4 separate regions of the Homo sapiens genome follow, and regions 2, 3 and 4 are each linked to region 1. Evidence: promoter capture Hi-C in human tissues and cell types (Jung and others, 2019). All regions are on one chromosome and are shown on one strand. Each heading gives the region's core, a stretch centred on a gene start or on the middle of the fragment in contact. The rest is flanking DNA. Distances are from core to core; before and after follow the strand shown. Region 1 holds the start of CYBRD1 (cytochrome b reductase 1). Region 2 overlaps LOC107983995 (a long non-coding RNA gene). Region 3 has its middle 38 kb from the start of TLK1. Region 4 overlaps TLK1 (tousled like kinase 1).

Region 1 (6,953 bases), core at 552-3,051:
GTGGCAAAATAACTGAGAGTTACGCAACGAAATGCCTTAGGTGCCCAGTGGTGCTCACACCCTGATGCCGATCTCACACCCTGATGCCGATCTCACACCAGGGAAGCCTTTGAATGCTGAGGGTTAGTAACACCTTCCACTACATTCCAGAGTGGGAGAATGCTGGCCACACTTGCCAAAGCTGCAGTACAAGTTTAAAACAACCAACAAAAACAAAAGCCAAAATCACTTTTCTTTAGGAATGAGGTCAGCACTCTTTTGCACACTCGTTTGTGGGGAGTTAAATATTTGGTGAAGAAAAGGCAGCCTGCCCGCAGGCAAAGCTAGAGATTTCGGCCAGTGGGCATATCTTTCCAAACCCTTGCTACTCCTCTCGATTATTTTCTGCGACATAACACCACTCCACCCCTTGCTGCCTTTCTCTAACTACTTTCTGAAGGCCGTGCCTTTGGGGAAGTGGTTACAAATAAATGGTGTTTGCGCCAAAAGCTAGAGGTTCCTCCAGCTACACGGCAAACCGAAGGAAGCAGTCAGGACATTGAGAGGCACTACACAATGACAACAAACATTGCCAGCGACTGCTGAGCCCCTCCCCCGCGCCAGCCTCAGCCCAGAGAATGCAGGCCCGGGGCTGGCTCGCCGCGGGCCAAACACGGACGCAGCTTGCGCCGGGGGCATCCCGAGCAGAGGCATCCCTCGGTGCCAGGCAGCCGCGGGCCCTCTCCGGGCATCTCCCACCCGGAGTGCTGGGCCAGTGCCCAATAGGAAGCCCCGCGGGGGAACTTTCGCCACTCTTCTGCCACATAAACAAGTCGGGCTCAAGACCGTCCAATGACTGGGCAGGGCGGCGAAACACACTTGGAAGTCCTGGCAGCTTCCCGGACTCGACTGAGTTTAACACTCTAGGAGGAGAGGAACCCAGGGCGGATGCTTCACTCGCCCCCCTTGGCCAGCCCCTTTACCCAGGGCCGAGGATGTTACAAATACGGGCAAATTCTCGCTCCGGCAATCTTTTCCCCGCTGCCTTCCCCTCCTCATCTGCAGCCTGGAAGCAAGTTCAGCAAAAGGCTGAGGCGAAAGTGTTTCCGCGCCCCCGATCGCGCAGGCTCGGTCCACAGGGGCGACTTTCCGGGGCGCGTGGGCTGCAGCGGCCCGACTGCGCGGCGCTCCGGCATCGCGCCCGGGCTCAAGTTTCTGGGTCTTGGAGGCCCCTCCAGTGCGTCCTAGCCAGTCGCCGCAAAGAGTTAACCAAGTGGGGCCGGCCCCGCTCCGCCGCCCCCAGCAGCGCGTCTCCACCGCGCACCCCCGGCCCCGCGCTCGCGGCGATCCTCCTGAACCGCAGCTCTGTCCCGCCCCAGAGCCAGCCAGCCTCCCTCCCGCCCAGCCGACTTGGCTTCCCGCGCGCTCCTCACCGCACTCCTCCGGGCCCCGCGATCCTCCAGCACTTCCTCAGCTGGAAGGGGCTTCACGGAGGACCCTCTGCCCCCGCCGTTCTCCCCGCTTTCCTCCCCGCACCCCCCCAGGAGGTGCCAGTACCGATGCCCTGGATGAAGACGAAGCCGGTGACCATGAGCACTGGGTGCCAGTTAAACTCTAGTGCGCTCCCATCCCAGCCAAGCCCCTCTCGGTAGTGGAGGACCCAGACGAGGGCGAAGATCACCGACAGGAAGCCGACGAGCAGTGCCGACCCCAGCAGCGCCAGGAAGCGCCAGTAGCCCTCCATGGCCATCAGCGCCCCATACTCCGCACCGCGGGGGCCACAAGAACTTGGAGAGGCGGCGGCAGCCCTCTGGGTAGTGGCCGGGCGGCGGGACCGGGGCGTCGACTTCTTGGGGCTGTCTCCGCCTGCGGGGAGGGACTTTCTGGGCTGCTGGCCCGGAATGTGGGGCCTCTTGGGGGTGGGGAGCTGGCCCCAACTCAGAAATGGGCCCCACCCCCGGGATCACGCGGCCGCCGAGGGCGCTCATTGCCTGGTGGCCTCACCCTCTCCCTCGTCCAGCATCCAAGCTCGCAGAGGGCTTCAGTAACAGACCTAGTTAGTTGCTCAAAGAGAAAATTCCGAGGATTTTATACTCACCACTTGCTTTTAACACTTCCCGTGTCTCGTCCTTATTTGTGGGGAGGTTGAGTAGGGCAGTGGTGCGCCCTCTTGGTTAAGAGAAGAGAGGGATCCGTTGGGTAGGGTTATGTGTGTGCTTTTAACTACTAACGAAGCCTCCTTAGCCACAGTGCTGGAGAATTGGCTGTCTCTGACATCAAAGGGTGTTAAGGAGGAACCTGTAAGGTGGTGTAAACTAAAAATAAAATCCTAAGCCCCTCACTGACTGAATGGACCTCCTTGGCCAAGCAGACCCCAGAAAAACCTTAAAGCTGAGTTTCTAGCTACAGCCGGAAGGGAAGTCTACCCCCTCCATTTTGGAATTTAGACTCAACAGCTGACTAGCATTAATGTTTAAAATAGAAATCATAAGGCGGACAGAACAGACTCTTTGTAGCAATAAGACATCAAATTATAAAAAGGACCTAAGTCACACACTCCTACACTTAAGAAATAAACTATGGTCTAACTGCCACAAAGGTTTTCTTTTCCTCTAGAGGCTAAACAAGCACTGGCTTGAGATAAGCAATATTAAAACAATTACAACTTAATCAGTTCACAGATGCTGACCAGCTGAACCCCTGTTGCACCAGCCAGAACTACAGCTTTCACTGGGCTGATTTCAGGAACTTTTTCATGATAAGAAGACCGACCATGGACCGGTTCTGGCCAGTGTACAGGGATTGTGCACTTGTATGCATTCACGTCCTGAAAAGACCTTTTGAAGTGTAGGTTTGAAGTAATACATTTAAATGTATTTGAAGTAATACAATTAAATGTTAAGTCTCCACCCCAAAGAGAACATGTTACATGCATGTTTGTTCAATATGCATGTGTAAGGACCACCTCCATTAATATTCATAGCTCCTCCTGTAACCTGTTACGTATGTATGTTTGGCCAAACTGTTCAGCATAAAGCTCCTACCCCAACCCCTCTGCCTTCCAAGTGCCTGTCTCTGGTCTTAGGCCAGAGGCTATGTTTATCAGCCTATGGAATGGCCTCCTTGCAGGCTATAACCTTTTATAAGAAATAAAGTCTCCTCTTTTTTCAAATTTATAATTTTTTGTTTTAAGTTAACAGTAAAGGCCAGGCGCAGTGCCTCACACCTGTAATCTTAGCACTTTGGGAGGCTAAGGCGGGCAGATCACTTGAGTCCAGGAGTTTGAGAACAGCCTGGGCAACAAGGTGAAACCCTGTCTCTACTGAAAATACAAATGCATGCACCTGTAGCCCCAGCTACTTGGGGGACTGAGGAAGGAGGATCACTTGAGCCCAGAAGGTCGAGGCTGCAGTGAGCTGAGGTTGCACCACTGCACTTCAGCTTGGGTGACAAAGTGAGACTCTGTCTCAAAAAAAAACAAAAAACAAAAAACAAAAAAAACCCAGTAAACCGGGTCCCCATGAGGTGTCTCACAGCTGTAATCCCAGGGCTTTGGGAGGTGGAGGCAAGAGAATCACTTGAGCTCAGGAGAGGTATGATCGCACCACTGCACTGCAGCCTGGTGACAGCTAGACTCTGTCTGGAAACAAAACAAAAACAGCATGGGCAGCGGTGGGCTTGGCCTTATCCTGCAATGAAACTACTTGCAGTTTGCTCTTGAGAGAGGGAAGACAGGAACCTCCTGGACCTGGACTTGCCGTTTAGTGTGACAAATGGATTTTCAAAGTGCCCGCCCACCCAAACCAATTTGAACCAAAGCCCCTCCTTGATGAAGTGAAGCTTGCTCCCTGCCCTCTTTCCAACATTATCCTCACCCTTCTCCACTGGACAAAAACAATGTCAGCATTATCTAATGCTATTATAAGAAAAAGGGTTCTGACTGCCAGGGCTTCCAGAATGCATTTGGGAACGTTCACTTCTAGCCCTCTTCTGTAGCTCATCTCCAAGGACTACTTTGCTATATTGTCTTGTTGCCGTCTTGAAAGACCTTAGAATGTGCAGGAAGTATACGGGGATGATTTTCAAAGCAGGCTAAGGAAATAGGAGTGGCAAGCCATGGTAGTAGGGCAGGATTAAGGGCTCAGAGTAAAAGGCTGTAGACCTCACCTGTGTCATTATTTTTCCCTTGGTGGGGAGAGTAAGCAAATGGAAGAGAAGGATACCTTTCCCCAGCACAAGGCTTTCTTTGATCTGGTCCAGCCTAGCACCCCCTGCCAGTCTCTTACCACAACCTGACTGGCCCTGATGTCCTTGGCTGTAAACTGCTCTGGCAGCTTCTGACCACTTCCTACCCACGCCACTGCCTCTAAATTTCCCTGACCCCCATCTCCACTGAGAAACCTTCCCTGAGTCTGCCCCTGCCCAGACTTTTATATCCCACTGACCTCCCCATCCAGTGCCTCCTTGTGTCACCTGTCAGGATGTAATATAAGGATCTGCTTCTCTGGCTGTCTCCACTCTCAGACTGCCCTATTGAAGGCATTGATTCTCTAATTGATCATTTTATTCCTCCTTGGGATGTGGTAGTTACTCAATAAACATGTGTTGGGAGGCTAATGAGACTGAGTGTGTTAATCAGGGTCCTGGCAGAAAACAAACAGCATATTGGAATTGAGTAATTTCATAATGAACAAGACTGTTTATGAAGTTGTGGGCAGTGTAGGAAACCTCAGGGTTAGGCAGTGCCCCAGGTCTGAAGGGCAGAGAATTACTGGAATCCAGAGAGAAAATTGTGCGGAGGGGGAAGTCCGATAGAGGCCTTGAGTACAGGGATGCAGCCAGCCTGCAGAGACCTCATAGGGAGAAAGATGGAAGCAGATAAATATTCCAGCCTTACTCTTCTCCCCTCTGATCTTCTGCCTAGGGTGTCCCAGGGGCTAACCAGAACCTAATCAGAAGCCACAGGGCAGTCCATGTATCCATCCCAGGTCAACTTAGGGCACAGAGCAGAAGAGAGAAGAGTGAGAGCGGATCCCTAGGAATAAAAGGAAACTATCCCTGAATCTTCCGGTTTTATTTTTTCAGACCTTTTTTTGGTTCCTGAGTGCTGCAAACATTGCCTGTTTCATCTTACACTGATTCTTTTCCTTTGCGAACTTTAGCTTGTAATTCTATAATGACATCATTGTATCCCTATCCCTCTCCCTAAAAGTATCTAGTCTTTGTCCTCAATTAATGTTTTCACCCCATTGACCTAACACCTTCACTCCACTCTTGAGTTAATTTTGCTTCATAGCAGCAGCAGATGAGAATCTCTGGGATTCCAGACCCCATTTAACAAAACATTTCGGGAGGATGAAAACATGGCCAAATGGTACCAATGGTGTTGAATCATCTTGAAGTTATATGTAAAACTGAGAGAATTTCAACTTTTAAATTATCTTTTAAGAACCTAACTTTGATATTAAATAAAACTGTCACTGAGAAGGGGAAATTTTTCAATAAACATTGTTGTGGCTTACTGTTAACCTTTTAATTAATTAATTAATTATTTTTCTTTTTGAGACAGGGTCCCACTCTGTCACCCAGATTGGAGTGCAGTGGCATGATCTTGGCTCACTGCAGCCTCCACCTCCTGGACTCACCCTCCTGCCTCAGCCTCCCAAGTAGCTGGGACCACAGGCGTGTGTCACCATGCCTGGCTAATTTTTGTATGTTTGGTAGAAAGGGGGTTTCATCATGTTGCTCAGGCTGGTCTCAAACTCCTGAGCTCAGGAGATCCACCTGCCTTGGCGGCCCAAAGTGCTGGCATTATAGGCATGAGCCACCACCCCTGCCTGTGAACTTTTTTAAAACAGAGTTGTTAAATGATAGAAGTTTCCCTCTGGAGATTGTAAGCAGTTTGTCACCAAAGTACCTAATCAGACTCAATAACCTGTCAGCAATGCTGTTGGGTGATTCCTGATGTAGCAGGTGGGGGAGAGCATTGAAGAAGATGGCCTTCCTAAAAACCTAGAAGCTGGCCGGGCGCAGTGGCTCACGCCTGTAATCCCAGCACTTTGGGAGGCCAAGGCGGGCAGATCTTGAGGTCAGGAGATCGAGACCATCCTGGCTAACACGGTGAAACCCTGTCTCTACTAAAAATACAAAAAATTGGCCAGACGTGGTGGCAGGCACCTGTAGTCCCAGCTACTCGGGAGGCTGAGGCAGGAGAATGGCGTGAACCAGGGAGGCGGAGCTTGCAGTGAGACGAGATCACGCCACTGCACTCCAGCCTGGGCGACAGAGCGAGACTCTGTCTCAAAAAAAAAAAAAAAAAAAAAAAAACAAACAAAAAAAACACCTAGATGCTAGAAACATGCTCATGCAGAATTTTTTGTCCCTCACACAGATGTAGAATGTAGAGTAAGAAGACATGTTGTGAGGGTTGTGGAAAGAAAATCCAAATCCCACCCATCAGGAGATGAGGCACTGGGAGCCCTAGATGCCATCTGTCTTTTGAACTTCCACAAAATAATGTTGCATTTCTTCTGGTGCATACAGAAGTCCAGTATGCTGCTCTTCTGAGGATCCGGCAAGATGGCAGAAGTAGAGCAGAAGAAGAAGCGGACCTTCCGCAAGTTCACCTACCGCGGCGTGGACCTGGACCAGCTGCTGGACATGTCCTACGAGCAGCTGGAGCAGCCGATGCAGCTGTACAGTGCGCGCCAGCGGCGGCGGCTGAACCGGGGCCTGCGGCGGAAGCAGCACTCCCTGCTGAAGCGCCTGCGCAAGGCCAAGAAGGAGGCGCCGCCCATGGAGAAGCAGGAAGTGGTGAAGACGCACCTGCGGGACATGATCATCCTACCCGAGATGGTGGGCAGCATGGTGGGCGTCTACAACGGCAAGACCTTCAACCAGGTGGAGATCAAGCCCGAGATGATCGGCCACTACCTGGGCGAGTTCTCCATCACCTACAAGCCCGTAAAGCACGG
Region 2 (6,818 bases), core at 777-3,276, 270 kb after region 1:
TCTCCAACTCCTGGGCCCAATCTATCCTCCTGCTTCAGCCTCCTGAGTAGCTGGGACCACAGGCCCACACCAACACACATGGCTTTTTTTTTTTTTAAGTTGAGACAGAGTTTGTTTTGATGCCCAGGCTGGTCTTGAACTTCTGGGCTCAAGCCATCCTCCCACCTCATTCCCAAAGTGCTAGAATTATAGGCATGAGGTACTGCACCCAGCCTAAAATTTAAAATGCAGCCCAAAGTCATATTTGAATCCTTAAAGGGAACTACTCAGGATTTCAAAGTGCCCTTCAGGCCCCCTAAAATAGCATTTTACTTGTGACCAAGGTGTCAGAAGCTATAATTTGGTCACAAGTTACACATGACAGAAACTACTTCTGGCTGATTTAAGAAGAAAAAAAAAACAACAGGATTCTCTGCAGTATCTATGTCCTGTGTCACTGGTTCAAAGTCGAAGGCAGATATTTCTAATTGGCTTTGCCCACATTGTATAACACCACCTTCCAGTAAGGGAGCTGGGAAATGAAGATCTGGCATTTTCTGCTTCTGAAGTGGGAAGTAGGCACTTTTTCCCACTAAGACTCATAAAGTAGGATTCCCCAAACATAGGAAGAAGTTTCAGATGCTGAGTAGTACCCCAAGAATAATAAATATCTCTTATGTGGAATTTTTAGTTGGGTGGGGGACTACCTAATATTGGAGAAACTGCAAATATAAATCCAACACAATTGGCGTCTACCCTGGGTGTGTTTCTGGCACTCCTATCTGTGACCCCTTATCCATTCTATAACCTATTTCTATGAACTTAGTTTTCTCAAACTTTGTGAAATTTGCTTCTGCTAGCCAACTCTGAGGCTCACTTCTGACTCCCAGCTAAGTCACAACACTTTTCCCATAATTTCCAACTTGGGGCACAACTCAGAACTGAAACTATAAGAGAAAAATAAGACACACAGCAATGTTGACCTCTACCATACTCTGTGAAATTAGCAAATAGCTTGTTTTTTAGGTAGGATATCAGTAGCCCAAATTATTAGAATGGAATGTGTTTTTATATGTACTCTTAAAGTTATTCTTTCAAATTTTGGAAATGTTGCTTCTTATTATCAGAAATATTCCCTAAACAGTTTGTGCAAGCATTCTCCTGATGGTGCCTGTGAGTGCCAATGACATTTTTAAAAGCTTCTTTTCACTTTTGTATTTGATGAATGTAGAACTTAAGCACTGATCTGAAGATGAGAAAGGCCTTTTCATATCAAAGTTTCTAAAGAATGCCCCCAAATGATCAAGATGCTTGTCAGGGTATTGAGGCAAAGTGACTTGCGGGGTGGCGGAGTTGGGGGGTGGATATTCAAAATGAAGGCGGCAGGGAGGTTGGAGGCCTCCTTATTACCCAGTGGATTTGCCAGCTCTCTTTGCTTTTAGGCAGCAAGGACAGACTATGAGGTATGTGCTGCAAAAGTTATTTTCAGAGCTGTAAAGATTTAATCATTTCACTGTTTTTAACCAGAGGAACCTTGTATTTCTTCTACTACATTGGAACAAATTTTAAAAGGAAAGGACACAGGCAGTCCCTGACTTAGGGTAATGGACTCAAAGCACTTACTCACTCCTTCCCTGCCCATGCTATCATTACTGCCGTTCGACAGACTGCACACAGATGAACTCTCATTCGTGCACTCTGCAAATACTTGTAAAGTACCTGTTTTGTGACCAGTACTGTGTGAGGCAGGCAGGAATCTGACATGAAGCCAGTAAAGCTTCAGCTTCAAAGACCCTCAGTGTCATGTGCCTCTTCCAAGAAGGCACCTAGCGATATATTTATGTGGTCATATGTTTTTGCAAAATTTGCAGAGGTAAGATACTCTAACCACAATTGATTAAGATTACTATCTCTTTCCACTTTGACTTCCTCTTTACTTCAGTTCTCCCTTGTGTCTAGTGGCATTGGAGATTCACAGTCATTTTGAGATTCCTCTAAGGTAATTTGGGCTAGGAATACATTTATTTGGGCTTTAGTGGGATACGTTTATGTGTTTGGGCAGCCATTTCTGTAAATAGTTAAGCTATGCTGGCCATCCCAGCTTAGGAATGGCTGGTAGGAATACTTGTACTCTTCAACATGACAAGTCATCTGATGTTGTGACCTGATGGTGCAGGGCATTGATGATACACTGGTTAATAGGAGTATGGTCAATACAAAGAACAGTTAAGTTTAGTCACTGTGTCATAATTTGAAATGCCCTGAAATGTTATAACCCATCTATGTAAGACACTTGGTAGAGGTTTCCAAAATTTGATAGCATTTGTAAAAATTTACATGACTTAGCAATAATGAATTGGGGAACTGAAATAAGCTTTTCTAGGAAATATTAGAAAACATGTTGATCAACCATGCTAGAGAAAAGCATGAACGACCTTTCTATTCAATATAGGAAATGATCTTATAAATTATTGTCATATGAAAGAGGTAATCGAAGGCTGGGCCCAGCGGCTCATGCCTGTAATCCCAGGACTTTGGGAGGATGAGGCGGGTGGATCGCCTGAGGTCAAGAGTTCGAGACCAGCATGACCAACATGGTGAAACCCCGTCTGTATTTAAAATGCAAAATTATCTGGGTGTGGTGGTGCACACCTGTAATCCCAGCTACTTGGGAGGCTGAGGCAGGAGAATCACTTGAACTCAGAAAGCAGAGGTTGCAGTGAGCTGAGACCAAGCCATTGCACTCCAGCCTGGGCAACAAGAGTGAAACTCTGTCTCAGAAAAAAAAAAAAAAATAGGAAGAAAAGAAAAAGAAAGAGGTAATCGAAGAAGACAAGCCAAAAAAGTAGGAAAAATATAGAGATGTGTCAGGCAGTTAATAAAGAAAAACATTTCATTTTCATAGATGTTGTGTTTATTAGCTTTTTATACTTGTAATTGGTTGTGATTTCTTCATACCTAATTTTGTATTCTTTTGAAAAATCCTTCCTTCCCCAAACTATGTAAGCTTCAGGCCTGCAGAACCTGGATTTCCCCCTGGTATGTGAATGAAGTTGCATTAAGGCCCATGTTAGTCTTCCATGTGCTCACAGTCTAATAGAACAGACAGACAAGGAAACAAGCAGTTCAACATAGTGTGACAAGTGCTACAATGTGGCATCATCTAACCAACTGGGGAAAAATTGATCCTAACCTTGCATATATCCATGTGTGGGTTTTTTCTGACACCAAATGTGTGGTGTTGAAACTGCCTTTGCAAAATTATGACTGAGATAGCAAAAGAGATCTAACCTAATTGACTCCATCTTCCTTCTAACCTCCAAGCTGTCCTTGTCCATTCCTGGACATGGGCTGAACTAACTTTGGGAGGAACTTAATTTATAGTTTAAAACAAAGATGATAACAGCCCTTTCCCAAAACAAACCTCCTTCTTGCCTGGGGACTAGACCGCCTTTGTAGGACTAAGAAATTAGTCACAAGATTAGAAATTATGATTTAGGAGTCATGCATCTGGAGGCTACAAGATTCTGACTTTCCCTGAACTGCTCCTAAGATCACTGCCTGAGATATTTTGCAGACTCTGCACTTGATGGATCAGCTGGCACCACCCAGTTCGATAAACTGGCTCATTTGATCTTGTGCCCCCTCCTCACCAGGAACTGACTCAGCACAAGAAGACAGCTTCAACTCCCTAAGATTTCATCTCTGACTTCACCAATCAGCACTCCCAGCTCACTGGCTTCCCCCCGTCCACTAAGTTGTCCTTAAAAACTCTGATCCCCGAATACCCAAATGCTCAGGAAGACTGATTTGAGTAATAATAAAACTCTGGTCTCCCACACAGCCGGCTCTGTGTGAATTACACTTTCTCTGTTACAATGCCCCTGTCTTTAGAAATCAGCTCTGTCTAGGCAGTGGGCAAAGTGAAACCATTGGGTGGTTACAGTGTCTTTTCCAACACATTGTTCCAACATCCATTCACCAGTTATCTCCCACCAACTGGGTGTTCTTCAATTCCATTCAACTCTGATGCTAACTACCCAGAGTTAGTGCAAACCCCACAGGTTAAAGTCATGGTCCCACAAGACTGCCCCCACTTCAGATGCCAGGTAGAATTCCTGGGTTTCTAGGCTACTCACACTTCTATCCTATTTGGCTGCAAATTTGGGGGTTCGCATCACCCTCCCTCATGTTTGATAATTTGTTAGAACAAATTGCAGAACTGAGGGAAGCACCTTGCTTGTGATTACTGGTTTATTATAAAGGATGCAACTCAGGAACAGCCACATGTAAGAGATGCATAGGGCAAGGCTGCGGGAGAAAGGAAGTGGAGAGCTTCTGAAACTGTCCTTGTACAATCACCCAACGGGTGCTTCCAGCTTGCGGCACAGACAAAACAATTCACTGAGACCATGGTATTGCAGTAAAGAAAGAGCTTAATTAACCCAAGACAGCCAAGCAGAAGGACGGATGTTATCACTCAAATCAATCTCTCCAAGAACTCAGGGGCTAGGGTTTTTATGGATAGTTTGGCAGGCAGGGGCTAAGGAATGGGTGCTGCTGATTGGTTGGGGAATAAAAGCATAAGAGTGTGGAAAACAGTCCCTATGTGCTGAGTCTGCCTCTGGGTGGGGCTACAGGATTGGTTGAGTCATAAGTCACCAGTCCAGTTGGAATTAATCAGTTGCCTGAATGCAAAAGTCTGAAAAACATCTCAAAAGACCAATCTTAGGTTCCACAACAGGGATGTTTCCTACAGGAGCAATTGGGGAAGTCACAAGATTTGTGACCTCTGGCCACATGACTCCTGAGCAGTAAGAGATTAGAGAAATTATGCCTGCATTTTGGCAGAAGTCAGGCCCCTCCCATTACAAAGGCAGTTTCAGTCCCTGAACAAACAAGGGATCAGTTTCAGGGAGGGACTCTTCTCATTCTTGCTTTAAACTATGAACTATATTCCTCGCAGTTACCTTGGCCTATCCCCAGGAATGAGCAAAGACAGCCAGCCTGTGAGACTAGAAGCAAGATGGAGTCAGCCATGTTAGATTTCTCTCACTGTCATAATCTTTGCAAAGGAGGTTTCAATCACAGAGTTGACAAGAATTTCATGCCAGGTTCTGGACAGAAATATAGTTATAATTAAGCATGAGGCTTAATTATAGGCTGCATTTTGGCCTACTTACTTGTAACTGAAAGTCACATAGCACTGGATACTGACCATTTGCATCCACATTGTTTCTATAGATGGGATTTCGGATGTTGGAATCATGAGGCTTTTGTTTAAGAGTTGCTTAAGATGTTCTTCAGATCCTGAATTCCAGCAGAACAGCTGACATCCACAACCAGTTTGAGGATCCCCACAGAAGAGCTGAATCAACATGAGAATGCAGTTTCTTCATCTCTCCAGTCCATGACTTCACCCTGCAATCCCCACAGAAGAGCTGAATCAACATGAGAATGCAGTTTCTTCATCTCTCCAGTCCATGACTTCACCCTGCAATCCCCACACCTCAGCCCACTCCAAACCCCTTACAAACTCCTCAGGGAGGCAAATCTGAGGTTTCCTTCCATCTCCTTGTTCAGATGCCCTATGATTATTAAACCCTTTCTCTGCTGCAATCCTTGAGGTCAGTGTGTCCACTTGCCATGCTTTAGGTAAGGAACCTGTTACAGTCACACTTCCATGTCCTCTTCCACGGTGCCACTCTCCCACCACATCAATGTTACCAACCCAGAAGCTCTCTAAATTTCACTGTTCAAGAGTATTTATCAAAGCTTTGTTTTGTAGGTGTGTTTGATCAAATCATTGGCCATTGGTGATTGAGCTCAATCTCCAGCCTTTCTCCCCTCCCGGGAGGTTGGAGGGTGGGGTTAAATGTTCAACCCTCTGATCCCATGTTTGGTCTTTCTGGGGACCAGTCCCCAACCTAAATCTATCTAAGGCCACCCTGAGTCACCTCATTAACATAAACTCTAGTATGGTCAAAAGGAGCTCATTATGAATAACAAAAGATACACCTATCACTCAAGAAATTCTAATAATTTAGGAGCTCTGTGCCAGGAACTGGAGGCAAATAAAGACCAACTATATTATACCACAACTCAACACCATTAATTTGATTTATAAAGCTATGAAGTTAGACAGTGAGACAAACTTTCCTGAACCATGTACGCAAAGACCACCCCCAAAATTTCCCCCAAAGTTACTTCCCGAAGAAGCTTTGTCAAAATTTCCATTAGAAGTTATTTTCGGCCAGATGCAGTGGCTCATGCCTGTAATCCCAGCAATTTGGGAGGCCGAGGCAGGCAGATCATGAGGTCAGGACTTCAAGACCAGCGTGACCAACATGGTGAAACCCTGTCTCTACTAAAAATACAAAAATTAGCCGGGCGTGGTGGCGCATGCCTGTAATCCCAGCTACTCGGGAGGCTGAGGCAGGAGAATCGCTTGAACCTGGGAGGCGGAGGTTGCAGTGAGCCGAGACTGTGCCATCACACTCCAGCCTGGGCAACAGAGCGAGACTCCATCTCAAAGAAAAAAAAAGTTATTTTCAGTTCCTTGGCCCAAGATTCCTTGCAGCAATCCTTTCATTTTTGCTTTGCTACAATCAAAACAAGGAAAAAATTATGAAGAATATTAAAAGAGACTTTCCTGTAGTGTATGCATAAGTCGTTATCATGAAATTTGAAGTTGGGTGTGATTAATTACTATTTAGATTACACTATTCAGCATTAGATATATAATTTATTGACTATGGAGTAAGAGGTTGCTATTCCATATTTGTAAAATAGAAGAATTGGAGTCTCTGGATGATTTTAAAGTTCCTTCCAGTTTTTTG
Region 3 (6,353 bases), core at 2,492-4,991, 320 kb after region 1:
CAAAATCCAGTAACAGTCCCCAACTCGTTTCTACATGAGCCCCTCTTCCCTGTGCAAGGCAAATTGCCTAGATAGATAGATAGATAATAGATATGATTGATGATAGATAGATAGATAGATAGATAGATAGATAGATAGATAGATAGATGATAGCTGATAAATGGTCTTAGGCTAAGTTCATAGTCATAGTGGTGTCTAGACCCACAGAGCTGAGGTTCTCACTGCCCTCTCCAGTTGGTCACATCGAGCTGTAGTAAAGACCTGCAGAGACCGTGCGTGAAGAGATATGACTTCAGGGTGATGGAACAGCTCCCTTTAAGGAACAGAAAACTTTAAGTGAAAGAATCCCTGAGATTTCTTCAGAGTTGTACCAGAGCATTAGATGGGAACCAGGTGGAACAGTTCCTTAGAAGCAGCTTTCAGCACAATATGAGGAAAATTCTCAATGGTTAGAGCAGTCTATAGAGCCAGTAAATGAAAACCTAAATAGTAGTGAGCTTCTTGCCAATTGAGGCTGGATGATCACCTATCAAATGTGTCATGAATGGGATTTCCTAGTTGAGTGGCTGGATACATGACACAGCTGTCCTCAAAAATGCTCTGAAGTGAGGTCAGGCAGGGTTCATGTTGATAGTATGGCTCTTAATAAATGGCAGCTCTCTAGTAATTTCAAAGATGCTTCATAACGATTGATGACAAAATATTAAGTGTAAATCTGTAAATAATGAGATGGCATTTCAATAGTAATTAACAAGCATTGATAAAATGAATTTAAAATTAATCTCAAACATACTCTATGAATGTAAAAACTTTTGTGATGAACTTAGGGTAAGGAAGACAGATAATATAAAAATGGGATTTGAGGCCGGGTGCGGTGGCTCACATCTGTAATCCCAGCACTTTGGGAGGCTGAGGTGGGTGGATCACCTGAGGTCAGGAGTTTGAGACCATCCTGGCTAACATGGTAAAACCCCCTCTCTACTAAAAATACAAAAAACTTAGCTGGGCATGTTAGCATGCACCTGAATTCCCAGCTACTCAGGAGGCTGAGGCAGGAGAATGGTTTGAACCCGGGAGGTGGAGGTTGCAGTGAGCTGAGATTGCGCCACTGCACTCCAGCCTGGGCTACAGAGAGAGACTCTGTCTCAAAAAAAAAAAAAAAAAAGAAGGGATCTGAGCCAAGTGCCTAATTTGACTTGTCAGGAGCAATTTTTAAATGATTTAGATTAATAAAAATAATACAAACTAAAATCTGATTGATTCTAATATATTTCTGTTGCTAATTAAGACTTAAAAGGACCTGATATGAATCTCCCAAATAATTTGTAAAAATACAGATGGGGTCTCACTATATTGCCCAGTGTAGTGCTATTCACAAGTACTATCATGGCACACTATAGCCTTGAACTCCTGGGCTTGATCCTCCCACATCCTTCTCATGAGCAAATGGTATTACAGGCATGCACCACCATCCCCAGGTTCCAAATAATTTTGACTTTGATCCAATTTTATTTAGCTTGCCTGAATTTTAAATTCCTAAGCTTAGGCCTACCTTAATGGATCCCAATACATTGCGGCAAGACTGTAAAATGTGGGCTGCGCAAGTCATTCTAACAGTTCAAAGAAAGGAACCATGGCTTCCAGATAGTCATATGATAAAGATAATTCCAAACCATTGTTGTTGCACAGACCAAAATTTTAAACTCCTTTAAGTAATGATATCACGCAACTGAAATTTAACAACACAGGATGGGGGGGTAGAAAAAACAAGCACTTGAAGGATGAAGCAAAGCACACTTTAAATAATGTAATATAACTGTGGAATGCTGACAAATAGTATCTTGATGGGAGGGGAAAGTGGAAACGCCACAATTTCTATTTCTACCGTGTTTTCCAAAGACACAATTTGCTTATGTTTATGTGTAAACAGGGCTTTATTTTCTAATAGTATTGGTTATGATTTAATCAGGGGAAAAAACTCTTGCTTGGCCTCACCATCCAGTCTCTCACATTTATGCTAGAGGTTCCCTGTTTTCCAGAAAAGGGAATTCTTGAGTCATTGGCCATTATTGTAAGCCATGTCAAAGGTGTGCCCTCTGCTCAGCAGTTACTAATGATCTATTGTGGGAAAGCTTCTTTTTTTACCTTACACTTGCTCTGTTGAAAATATCAACAAAATCTGAGTTTATTTGCTTACCAGTATTCCGTATGACAAAGACATGAAAACATCAAACATTATATTCCTTGATTTCTACTTTGCAGAAACCTTTCAGTAAATTAGGCTCTGAAATTTTCAGATTCTATTTCGAATTTGTAATATGACCCTCCTCCATAATTGAAAAGTTTTTCCCCAGCAAAAGGGACCACTGGATTTACTACTTTGACTGTGCCCCATCCCAAACACACACTTATAGGAAGATCCACTGGCTGAGGGAGCCCTCGAACTTCAGACTGATTCTGGGCTTTAGGACTCAAGGCTCAGAGGCTCAGACAGACTCTGCACTTTGTGGTTTGTTTCTGATTTTTTTTTTTTTTTAACCAGGTCTCACTCTGTCACCCAGGACAGAGTGTGGTGATGTGATCACGGCTCACTGCAGCCTCCATCTCCCAGGCTTAGGTGATCCTCTTGCCTCAGCTTCCCCAAAAGTGCTGGGATTACAGGTGCATGCCACCATAGCCAGCTAATTTTTAAATTATTTGTAGAGATAGGGTCTCCATATGTTTCCCAGGCTGGTCTGTAATTCCTGGGCTCAAGCAATCCTTTCACCTTGGCCTTGCAAAGTGCTGGGATTATAGGCATGAGCCACTGCACCTGATGCTCTTGGGGAGTTTTGAGTTCAGAATGACCTTGGCATGATTTTATGGGCTAGCCTAGAAAACTGATCTGGCAGATACACATGCACATTCCTAATATAACACTACTTTTAAAATAAATTACTTCCAAGCTGCAAACAACTTAGTTACAGATGGCTCTTTGGAAAACAATCCTTTCCCTTTTTTGAAAAACAAATTTTGGGTACATGGTTCTTTCATTAGAAACTTATTGGATGGACAGGACTTGAGTTTTACTTTTAATAATTCATGTTATATATTACCAAAAATGTGATTCTGGTGATGTCAAAGTCATGCTTTGTTCATTTGAATCTATTAAATAAAGTACTTATATGGGAAATAAAACTTACTTTAAAATTGATCAACAGGTAAATAGATAGGAAAGGTCTTAAATAATCATCAGTAAAGAACTAAAACAAGCAAACATTTGCTTTTCTAGATTGGAGGATAAATTTATCAGAGTCAGAATTTCCTCACCATGCAGAGTTTAAAGGCCGTTTATAATTATTCCTCATCTCCATCCTTTAGTCAATCAGGCCTCTTTTCTAACACATCTTTGGATGCTTGTCTAACTTCCCACTCTCATCACTGCCAACCCAACCACCAACTCTATCTAGTCCCAGCTGCTCTTACAACCTGCTAATTGAATAGTTTTAATGGCTCTTTTATACATCTATCCAAATCCACTCCAATCCTCTACTTTGTCACATTCATTCCTGGATTTTTTTCCTTGCAGTTTTGAATGGGCTAATATTTCTATTGAAAATTATTCTACTCATCCATAAGACGCAAATATTTTACATTATTTTTCCAATTGAGATATAGTGGCCATGTTGAACCACTGCTGTTTCTTAAATGATGCCTCTGAGCAGAAAAGCTTCATGCTATAATTAATTGCGCTGACACATTTATAGAATATTAAATGCGCTTACACATTTATATCACACATTAAATATGCATGTCAAATACATTTATAATGTATTTCCAGCTGGCCAGCCCATGTTTCTTTACCGTTATCATTTTTTTTCTCTGTTCTTGCTTACCTCTGGTAACTATAGAACGTAGATGATACTTTCCTTAGTAAATGCTTGGATTTAAACTATGATTAAGAGGAGAAAGACCATCTCCCCTATGCAAGTTGTTCATGTAAACATTTATTGACCATCTACTCTAGGCCAGAAACCAGGGTAGGTACTGAGGATACAAAAATGGACACATCATGTCTATCCACAGGAAACTTTGTCTGGTGCAGTTGTTTCATAATTTAGTGTTCTTATAAGAATCATATAAGGGTACTAGCCAAAAATGCAGATTCTGGAACCCCTAGTTACCCCACATTTTAATTTTAGAAGTTTGGAGTAGAGCCCAAGCATCTGCATTTTAGCAAGTCCTCCAAGTGATTCTTTATTGTTTTTTGTTTGTTTGGTTTTGTTTTTGAGACAGAGTCTCACTCTGTCACCCCAGCTGGAGTGCAGTGGTATGATCTTGGCTCCCTACAACTTCTGCCTCCCGGGTTCAAGCCATTCTCTTGCCTCGGCCTCCTGAATAGCTGAGATTACAAACGTGCACCACCACGCCCAGCTAATTTTTGTACTTTTAGTAGATACAGGGTTTCACCATGTTGGCCAGGCTGGTCTCGAACTCCTGACCTCAAGTGATCTGCCCACCTCCGCCTCTCATAGTGCTGGGATTGCAGGCGTGAGCCACTGTGCCTGACCTGATGCTCCAAGTGATTCTGATGCAGGTAGTCCCTTGATAACACTTTGAAAACATCACATTGAATACTATTGAATGTTTTATATTTGTGCCTATAGTTCTGTACTGTTATCTTTTGGGGGGTATTTTCGGGTTTTTTTGTAAAAAGCTATATAAAAGAAAATATTATTTAACCAGTTTCCTTTTCCTCAAATGCTTTTTTCTCTCTCATTTTTAAATAAGAAATCTTTTCATATTCAGAGATTATCTGTCAAGTATAAGAAAATTTAATGTATGAGCGCTTTTCTAAAAACCTAGAAGTTTATCATATATTTTCCTTATTTTTTTCACCACCATTAGACCATAACACAAAACATAACACTGTTGCAATAATATTATTACTTTACAAAAGTTTAGATTTCAAAGTTTGCTACTGAGTATTTTTTTTCTTTGTACTTTCCCCACACTTAGGGTTCTCCTGCTTCCAGGAGGAAAGAAACATTTCGTTTTTCTAGTCCAACTAAAGGCCCAAATTATGACTTACGTGAAATGTAGCTTCTAGCTATATGCTCATTACTTTGAAAAAGACTATGAAAGTAAGTTTAAGCAAAGCAAAACATAAAATAACCTTACTAAGTTTTTAGAGCTATATTCATATAGGCATAGTTACTTTTGTAACTAATGCTTAAGTTTGATGGAATAGTCCTCCCAATCTGTCTTCAACTTTCTTTGCAAACTCACTGTGAAGTCTCTCATAGAACCAGGCTGACAATGGCCTCCAGACTGCTGCCTTCAGATACCATACCATTTTTTTGTATTTCCCTTGCAAACTGCTTAGTTTTTAGAGCCCATTGAAGGGATGCCCAAGCTCACCATTCTTCTGCACTGACTTCTCTGTAACCTCTGTCCATGTAGCTGGGAAGGGGTTGCGAGAGCGGACATAGAAAAAACATATAGATATATGGCAAACCAAGTAACCATGTCAATTTTTTGAGAACATTTTTAAAAAATCCCCATGAGTTTGATGTTTTCTAATTACCAGGAGACAATTATCCACATTACACTTAAATAAAATGAAAAGGTCTCACCATTTCTGGCTACAAGTCCTGGTGTGGTGGCTCACGCCTGTAATCCCAACACTTTGGGAGGCTGAGGCGGGCAGATCACCTGAGGTCAGGAGTTTGAGACCAGCCTGGCCAACATGGTGAAACTCCATCTCTATTAAAAATACAAAACTGTGCTGGGCATGGTGGTGGGCACCTATATTCAAAGCTACTCAGGAGGCTGAGGCAGTAGAATCACTTGAACCCGGGAGGTAGAGGTTGCAGTGAGCCAAGATCATACCACTGCACTCCAGCCTGGTAGGCAGAGTGAGACTCCATCTCAAAAAAAAAAAACCAGCTACAATGTCCCTCCCTTCCTTCCTTCCTTCCTTTCCTCCTTCCTTCCTTCCTTTTTCTTTCTTTCTTTTTTTTTTTTTTTGATACAGAGTCTCACTCTGTTACTCAGGCTGGAGTGCACTGGTGCAATCTCAGCCCACTGCAGCCTCCACCTTCCAGGTTCAAGTGAGTCTCCCACCTCCCAGGTGAGTCCCAGCCTCCCAAGTAGCTGGGACTACAGGCACACACGAACATTGCAAGACGGGGTTTTGCCATGTTGGCCAGGCTGGCCTCGAACTCCTGACCTCAGGTGATCTGCCAGCCTCGACCTCCCAAAGTGTTGGGATTACAGGCGTGAGCCACTGCTTCTGGCCTACAATGCCTTTTAGCTCATTGGGATCTCAACAGAAAATCTTATAAATGTAATCATTTTAGGTGTTTATCCAC
Region 4 (6,968 bases), core at 3,052-5,551, 470 kb after region 1:
GACAGGAATCATGTTATGGTTTGTATAACTAAAGCTGTTTTATTATTATTTACAAGTAAAGGTTAGTTTGTCAGTGATGCAGTCGCTACTTTTTTATTTACTGATTTGCTTTTCTGAAATTAGTAGTTATTAAGCAGTATTAATAATGTAGTTTTAAAACAGGACATCACTTACATCATTTATTTGTAAGATTCTCCAATAACTGGAACTTTTAAAAATTGGCATGTCTCTATTGAAATGTCATTTGATTTTCATATTTGTGAAATTGATAGCTGATGTCCTGCGGACTCTTAATATTTTTTTGATGCCCATCACTACCCTACTAACATCATGCGCTTCTTATATTTTAGGAAAAAGTATTGGGGGACGTGGCCACAAAATTAGCGACTATTTTGAAGTAAGTTCATTGAGGATTGTCTCCATTTCCTAATTCAGTACTATTCTGCTGTGAGCTAGAAATAATTTCTTAGAAGCACAAGGTCAGCTTTTGATTACTTACTTGATTAGAGCAGAGCTTTATTACTATGTGATATCTTTCTAGGAAAATTAGATTTACATTTACATTGGGATGCCATATCATTTTTTTCTAAATACTTTCTCACATAGTTGTTTATAATAACCTGTAAGATAGGCAAAATACATATTAGTGTTTCAGTTTACAGATGATGAAACTGAAGACCAGAAATGTAAAGTAGCCTACACCGTAATTTTTTGAATTTTTGCAGTCAGACCGTGGCAGCAGTGACCTTGAGCAATAATAGAACACTAGGCATAAATGGGTTAACCCATTTAAGGCAAAGTCTGAATTGAAGAGTAAAGAATAGAAGTTAAAGTTCACTGGCTCTCTAGTTGAGAATTCTTTCTACTATCAAGTGTAATTATTAAAACAACAAACATGGTCTACTCAATTGAAAAATATTTATGTTTACTTGAGAGAGCAGAATTGGCTGATTAAGGGAAGGACTGATTTTTTTTTCCACCACTGCTTTCTTTCTTGGGTTCGTAAAATCTAAAGTAAAGCAGTTGCTGACCATGAGATACCTGATGCTCTTTGGTTGAGGTCAGTCACTTACTGATATCATTAATTAAGAACCTTTGCCAAAGGTACGATGAATTCAAATCAACAAATGTCTCTTGAATGCCTACTATGTGCTAAATTTTATGCTAGGCTCTATTGATAAAATAAATAAGGCAAAATCCCTAGGTTGCAGGAAGTTGTTTAATGAACATGCTGGGAAGTTCCTATCTGTGCTGTTCATGTAAGTAAAGTAATTAAACAAGAAATGATGAAATGGACAATAATCTACACCCCCAGAGGAACTTTGCTGCAGCAAGTTATTTTCTTTTCCCATCCTTCGTATGTGAACTTGAAATAGGAGAAAAGATAGCTATGGAATAGATCAGTTGGCTTCTCTTCATATGCAGCTAAGTCATGCACTTTGTACAGAAGAATTGATTTTTTAAAGATTTTGTGCTGTTAGAGGGAAGGGACCTATTATAATTCTTTTTATATAGTGCCATGAACACTTGGGTATCTTGAGAATGATATTCTGTTTAAAATAGTTGATTATGTTCACTAAGGTCTATGGGTAAACATTTTGAAATTTCTTGGGATTAGGGACTATATGGCTCAATAAACATTTGTAGGGGACCTGTGCTAAGATTTGGGGGGAAAACAAAATATGTTTATTGCTTTGGAGGAATTTATTTGTCTTTGAGTTGACCAAAATAACAGATGATAGTCAGAATATAGAGTAATAAGGATCTTTATAAAACAGTCTCGTCATGTTCTTGTGATCAGTAGTCTCTTAGTCTTTTAGGACTTGGCTGACCTTGTGTTTTTTTTTTTTGTTCTGGACCCATTTAAATGACTACTTATTTTAAAATTAGGTATATTTAGATTAATTCTTAATGTCATATCTGAAATAACTGTCTGAGCCTGCTTTAGTAAATAATAATGCTTCCTTTTTCTTTTACTCAGTACCAGGGTGGAAATGGCTCAAGTCCAGTAAGAGGCATACCTCCTGCAATCCGTTCTCCTCAAAATTCACATTCACATTCCACTCCTTCCTCATCTGTAAGTCATCTTTCAAGTTTTTCATGTGTAGTCTTTGGGAGGGTTATGTACACTGAATAAGTTTTATAATTTGTTGTTTTTTATTGAGAACTTCTATATAAATAAGTTAGCATTTATCTTTTAATACATTATTTCTGTGACATGAATTAAATCCTTTTAAGTTATCTGGTGCTATTGGAATTTTATTTCTGGAAGTGAGCCTCTTAAAGATTTTCTGAATTAATTATATCCAAGAAGCATTGTTTATGTTAAAAGAATGCCTGTTGAGTCTGTGGGACTAACATGAGTACTCTTGTATCAGTCTGTATTCAGTTGTTGATTCCTAATTTATAACTTTCTTAACAATTGAATTTCTTAACCACTAAAATGATAGCATAATTCCTTTCTGGGAATCCTTAAGAAAAAGGCAGGGTATGTAGTTCAGTATAGGAAAAGAATCATGGACTTAAAATTATCTTAAACTTTTTGGTTTTTTCATAACATTTTAGATATAGTTCTTTTATATGCATTGTTTTGCATATTGGATTTCATTTTTAAATTTACTTTCATTGTGTGAAAGTTCAATATCTAACTAGAAAAACAATATTGGTTTTCAGTAATTTAAAGAGGAATTAAAGATTTTTAAAAATCAGAGTTTCACTTATTTATTCAAACATCTTGTTTTTATGTCTTGTGTCCCCTTCTTGTCCTTTGTCTTTAGACATACTTGGTTTTGTTTTACTCATTTTGTACCTTTCAGGATATCACATTGCCGTGTATAAAAGTAAGGCATAAGATTCAACAGTAACTAAGAGTTGTAGTGATAGCGCTGATACAATGTTATAATCTGCTTTCAGTGAGTGTCTTTTTGAACTAGTGACCAGATAAACTATGAAATTCATTGATAAATTGATATTAAACTACATATGGGCGTGTATTATTGTCCCTAGTAAGTTTGTTTTTTCAACTATCATAATCATTGTTTAATATTTTTCAGAATAATTTATTTGGCCTTATTTTTTTTTTAACTGTATGAAAGCATTAAGATTTCTTTTATGGCACTAGAATGTAAGCTCTATGAGGGCAGGGAATATATTGTTGTATTTCTCACTGGGTCTTATGTAGGAGGTACTTAATGAACACTTGTTGAATAAATGGTGATTAAAGGTTTTAAAAGTCAATTATGTTTCAATTTAGGTATTATTCTGATAGAAACTTCTTCAGAAATGTTAAGTAATTGTTGCTAATTAGAAATCTGTTTTGTTTTGTGTTTTTTTTTTTTTTTTTTGCTAATATAAAAATTTTAATAATTTCTTTAGGTTCGACCGAATAGCCCTTCTCCTACTGCATTAGCATTTGGGGACCACCCTATTGTACAACCAAAGCAATTATCCTTTAAAATTATTCAGGTAAATGATAATTAAAATGTTTTTTTCTATGGCTTCTAAGAAACCATTGACTAACTTACTAACAACTAAGATGTCTGTTTGTTTTATATGTAGTCATAAAGCAGAATTACACATCAAGAAAGATAACTTACTAAACAAAAACAACAGAATTTGTAGGAAGGAGTGAGAAACTGAAACACACAATTTACTATCAGCTTTTTAAACAACCGTTAACATGTCAGTTCTGTTTACTGATTCTTTCTGAACTTAATTTCCAAGTATATGTAATTGATATTTTGTGAAACTGCTGTATTTTTTAGAAGTGGACATTAAAGCCTCTCATTTGACTGTATTTATTAAATACGTATATGTGACAAATTATAAACATTATTTGAATTATTTGTATATTTTCTATACTTATTTAGTTTCATGAATTTGAGCACTAAGTTTTTCATTTTAATTTTTTACATGTGACAGTTTCTGAGTGGCACTTTCTCAGACTGGGGTTTGGGAGAGTAGATCTTACTCTTCAAGCTCAGCTTGACAGTTTATTTCTATTAGACTGTATTTGTGAGGTCATATCCAAACTGTTGTGCATGTATCAAAACCTCTTTCTTTGGATGATCCTGAGGCTAGGATTAGAAGTACATTCCTTTCAGCCACTGAGTAGATCATGAAAGGTTTTGCTGCATGAGATGTTGGTCAAAGGACATAAAATTTTAGTTGGAAAGTAAGTTCAAGGGAACTATTATACATCATAGGGGCTACAGTTAAAAACAATATTTTGTGTATATGAAAATTGCTAAGAGAGTAGATTTTATTCACACCACAAAAAAAAGATATGTGTTAAATAACTTGATTTAGCCATTCCACATTGTATATACATATATCAAAACATCGTGTTGTGTACCATAAATAGATAGGTTTTTACTTATCAATTTAAAAAAGGTCTTGCAAAATTCAAAAAAATCAACTAGAGGAACGTATAGCACAAAGCAGCGGATATATTGAATTATAATGAGGAACATCAGTATTCTAAGTAATTGGCCTTTCTAGATGTTTCTTGGTAAGTCTGTAGCATTTATACACTTGAAGTTATTAAAACTGCACTAAAACTTTTTGAGATTCACTTTACATATACACACAAATATATTTTTCTTTACCTTTTGAATTTGGAGTAAAATCTAGTTTTATGTTTGCTTGAAACAACATATATAATGGAGATAATAAAATAACTTTTTTTCATTTAGACTGATCTCACAATGCTGAAATTAGCAGCATTAGAAAGTAATAAAATCCAGGACCTGGAAAAGAAGGAGGGACGTATAGATGATTTGCTCAGGGTAAGTAATGAGTCATAGAGGGGAAAAAAATTGAATAAATTATTTGGCAACAGTCAAACTGTTCAGAAAATACTTAGCATTGTAAAAAAATCTGTAGCTAGGCCAGGCGCAGTGGCTCATGCCTGTAATCCCAGCACTTTGGGAGGTCGAGGCGGGCAGATCACAAGGTTGAGAGATCAAGAGCATCCTGGCCAACATGGTGAAACCCCGTTTCTACTAAAAATACAAAAATTGGCTGGGCATGGTGGTGCGTGCCTGTAGTGCCAGCTACTTGGGAGGCTGAGGCAGCAGAAATGCTTGAACCCGGGAGGTGGAGATTGCAGTGAGCTGAGATCACGTCACTGTACTCCAGCCTGGCGACAGAGTGAGACTCTGTCTCAGAAAAAAAAAAAATTCTGTAGCTAGAACTCAATAAGCTTTTTCTGTTAGTTTAAGTACATGATTGAAAAATACCAATTTTAAAGTGAAATATTTTATTAGATCTTCAATAAATTGGGAATTGAGAAACTGTTGGAGAACTGGAAGTTAATAACATTTATATGACCAACTACCATAACACAAATAGCCATTTCATGTTAAAGTTTATTGATTTTATTATATGCCTGACATCTGATACCTATACGATGAAGTAACTGCTGCAGTTCTGTAGGATTTTTAATGGAAGCTTTATTTAAAAATACATCTAGAAGTATACTTAAGAATGTAAGGGTTTAAAGCAGCAGTTCTTACCCCTTGATGCTCCTTAGACTCACCAGTTGGGAAGGGTGAAAGTACTAATGCCTGAAACTCTACCCTGAGGGGTTCTGATCAAGTTGATGATGATGTAGGTCTTGGACATTGGTAGTTTTAAAGGCTCTCCCAGATAACTTTAATTTAAGACAGCATTGAGAACTACTGGTGTAGAAACTCGATAAAACCAACACCTGTGATCCTACTGTATTTGACAGTGTCTTTAAAACATCCAGTGTGTCTTTTTCCTGATCCTGTCATATTTACTTTCTCACACCCATTTACCATTTAACCACTATTTTAAATTTTGTATTTGTGATGCCTTGGTGTTTCTTTATGGTTGTATTAAATATGTGCTTACATTCTTCACAACATATTATTTCAGTTGGTTTTTGAACGTTAAGTGAAATTTTCCAGTATGGACCCTTTTGCCCAGCTTGTTTTCAATGAAATATATCAGAGAGTCATCCACTTTGATGAGTATAACTGTAGTTTGTTCATTTCATTGCAATATTGTAAGGTGTTACAAGTATACCATAATTTCTGTATCTTTTCTGCTTTTAGTTGACATTTTATTTCTACTTTTTCTAGTATAAACAGTTCTAAGAACATTCTTTGTACATGTCTTCAGGGCACATATGAAAGAATTTTTCTGTGGTATATGTTTAGGAAAGACATAGCCAGAGTACAGGGCATACGCATTTTCCATTTTACTGTATAATACCAGTTATTTCTCAAGGTTTTTTGGTCTGGTCTTTTTTTTCCCCCGCTAAGTGACAGGGTCTCACTGTGTCGCCCAGGCTAGAGCACAGTGGGGGATCATAGCTCACTGTAGCCTCAAACTCCCGGGTTTAAGCAATATTTCTACCTCAGGCTCCCAAGTAGCTAGGACTACAGGCTCATGCCATCACTCCGGGCTGATTTTTTTTTATTTTGTAGAGCTGGGAGTCTACAGGCTGGTATTGAACTCCTGGCCTCAAGTGATCCTCCCACCTTGGTCTCCCAAAGTGCTGGGGCTATAGGCATGAGCCACCATGCCCAGCTGATCTTTCAATATAAATTATTAGTCTTACTGAAATTGGTTTTGGGTATGGCATGATGTAGGGTTTCATTTCAATTTCTTTCTATATGGATAACCAGTTGTTCATCCCCATTTAATTAAAAGCTCATTCTTATACTGCCAGCTCTATCATCATAAAATCTTGTTTCCAGTATACAGGTGGATCTGTTTCTGTGTTCTGTATCATGTTTCCTTGTTCTGTTTGTGTCTCTACACAAGTACTGCAGCATCTTTTTATCATTGTTGATAAAACAATTTTTATCAGTTGTTTTTGGCTGTTAGTAACAGTGAACATAAATAACAGTACTTCAGATGAGATAGAAGCTTATTTTTCAAGAGAAGAACAGAAGTGGGCAGCTCAGATATTATTACTCCTCAGTATCATAAGGGAC

What was found. The method cuts DNA at HindIII sites, captures the fragments that hold promoters and counts their contacts. A contact is called where the count stands out against the background at its distance.
Region 2: a fragment that was not itself captured here is called in contact with the fragment with the promoter of CYBRD1 in region 1 in 1 of the 25 tissues and cell types used here (small bowel).
Region 3: a contact is called between a fragment that was not itself captured here and the fragment with the promoter of CYBRD1 in region 1, in 1 of the 25 tissues and cell types used here (liver).
Region 4: a contact is called between a fragment that was not itself captured here and the fragment with the promoter of CYBRD1 in region 1, in 2 of the 25 tissues and cell types used here (heart right ventricle and mesendoderm cells).

Annotation. Positions count from the first base shown.
Region 1 is chr2:171,517,322-171,524,274 of GRCh38, reverse strand. CYBRD1 (cytochrome b reductase 1) reads right to left here and starts at 1,801. Exons shown (of 4, transcript NM_024843.4): 1 at 1,537-1,801. The coding sequence starts at 1,729. It also overlaps the pseudogene RPS15P4. RefSeq lists silencers at 1,163-1,232, 1,383-1,492 and an enhancer at 1,603-1,712. The HindIII fragment of the contact is 9,103 bases long and covers 1-6,953 here.
Region 2 is chr2:171,243,413-171,250,230 of GRCh38, reverse strand. It overlaps LOC107983995 (a long non-coding RNA gene), which reads left to right. Exons shown (of 3, transcript XR_923576.2): 3 at 5,224-5,598. Among named protein-coding and RNA genes, the nearest start is that of TLK1, 86 kb to the right of the region's middle. RefSeq lists an enhancer at 4,729-5,928. The HindIII fragment of the contact is 4,689 bases long and covers 1-4,370 here.
Region 3 is chr2:171,195,694-171,202,046 of GRCh38, reverse strand. It overlaps a transcript of TLK1 not described here. Among named protein-coding and RNA genes, the nearest start is that of TLK1, 38 kb to the right of the region's middle. The HindIII fragment of the contact is 3,807 bases long and covers 1,838-5,644 here.
Region 4 is chr2:171,051,580-171,058,547 of GRCh38, reverse strand. It overlaps TLK1 (tousled like kinase 1), which reads left to right. Exons shown (of 21, transcript NM_012290.5): 5 at 351-397; 6 at 1,982-2,077; 7 at 3,376-3,465; 8 at 4,695-4,787. Among named protein-coding and RNA genes, the nearest start is that of TLK1, 110 kb to the left of the region's middle. The HindIII fragment of the contact is 3,750 bases long and covers 2,427-6,176 here.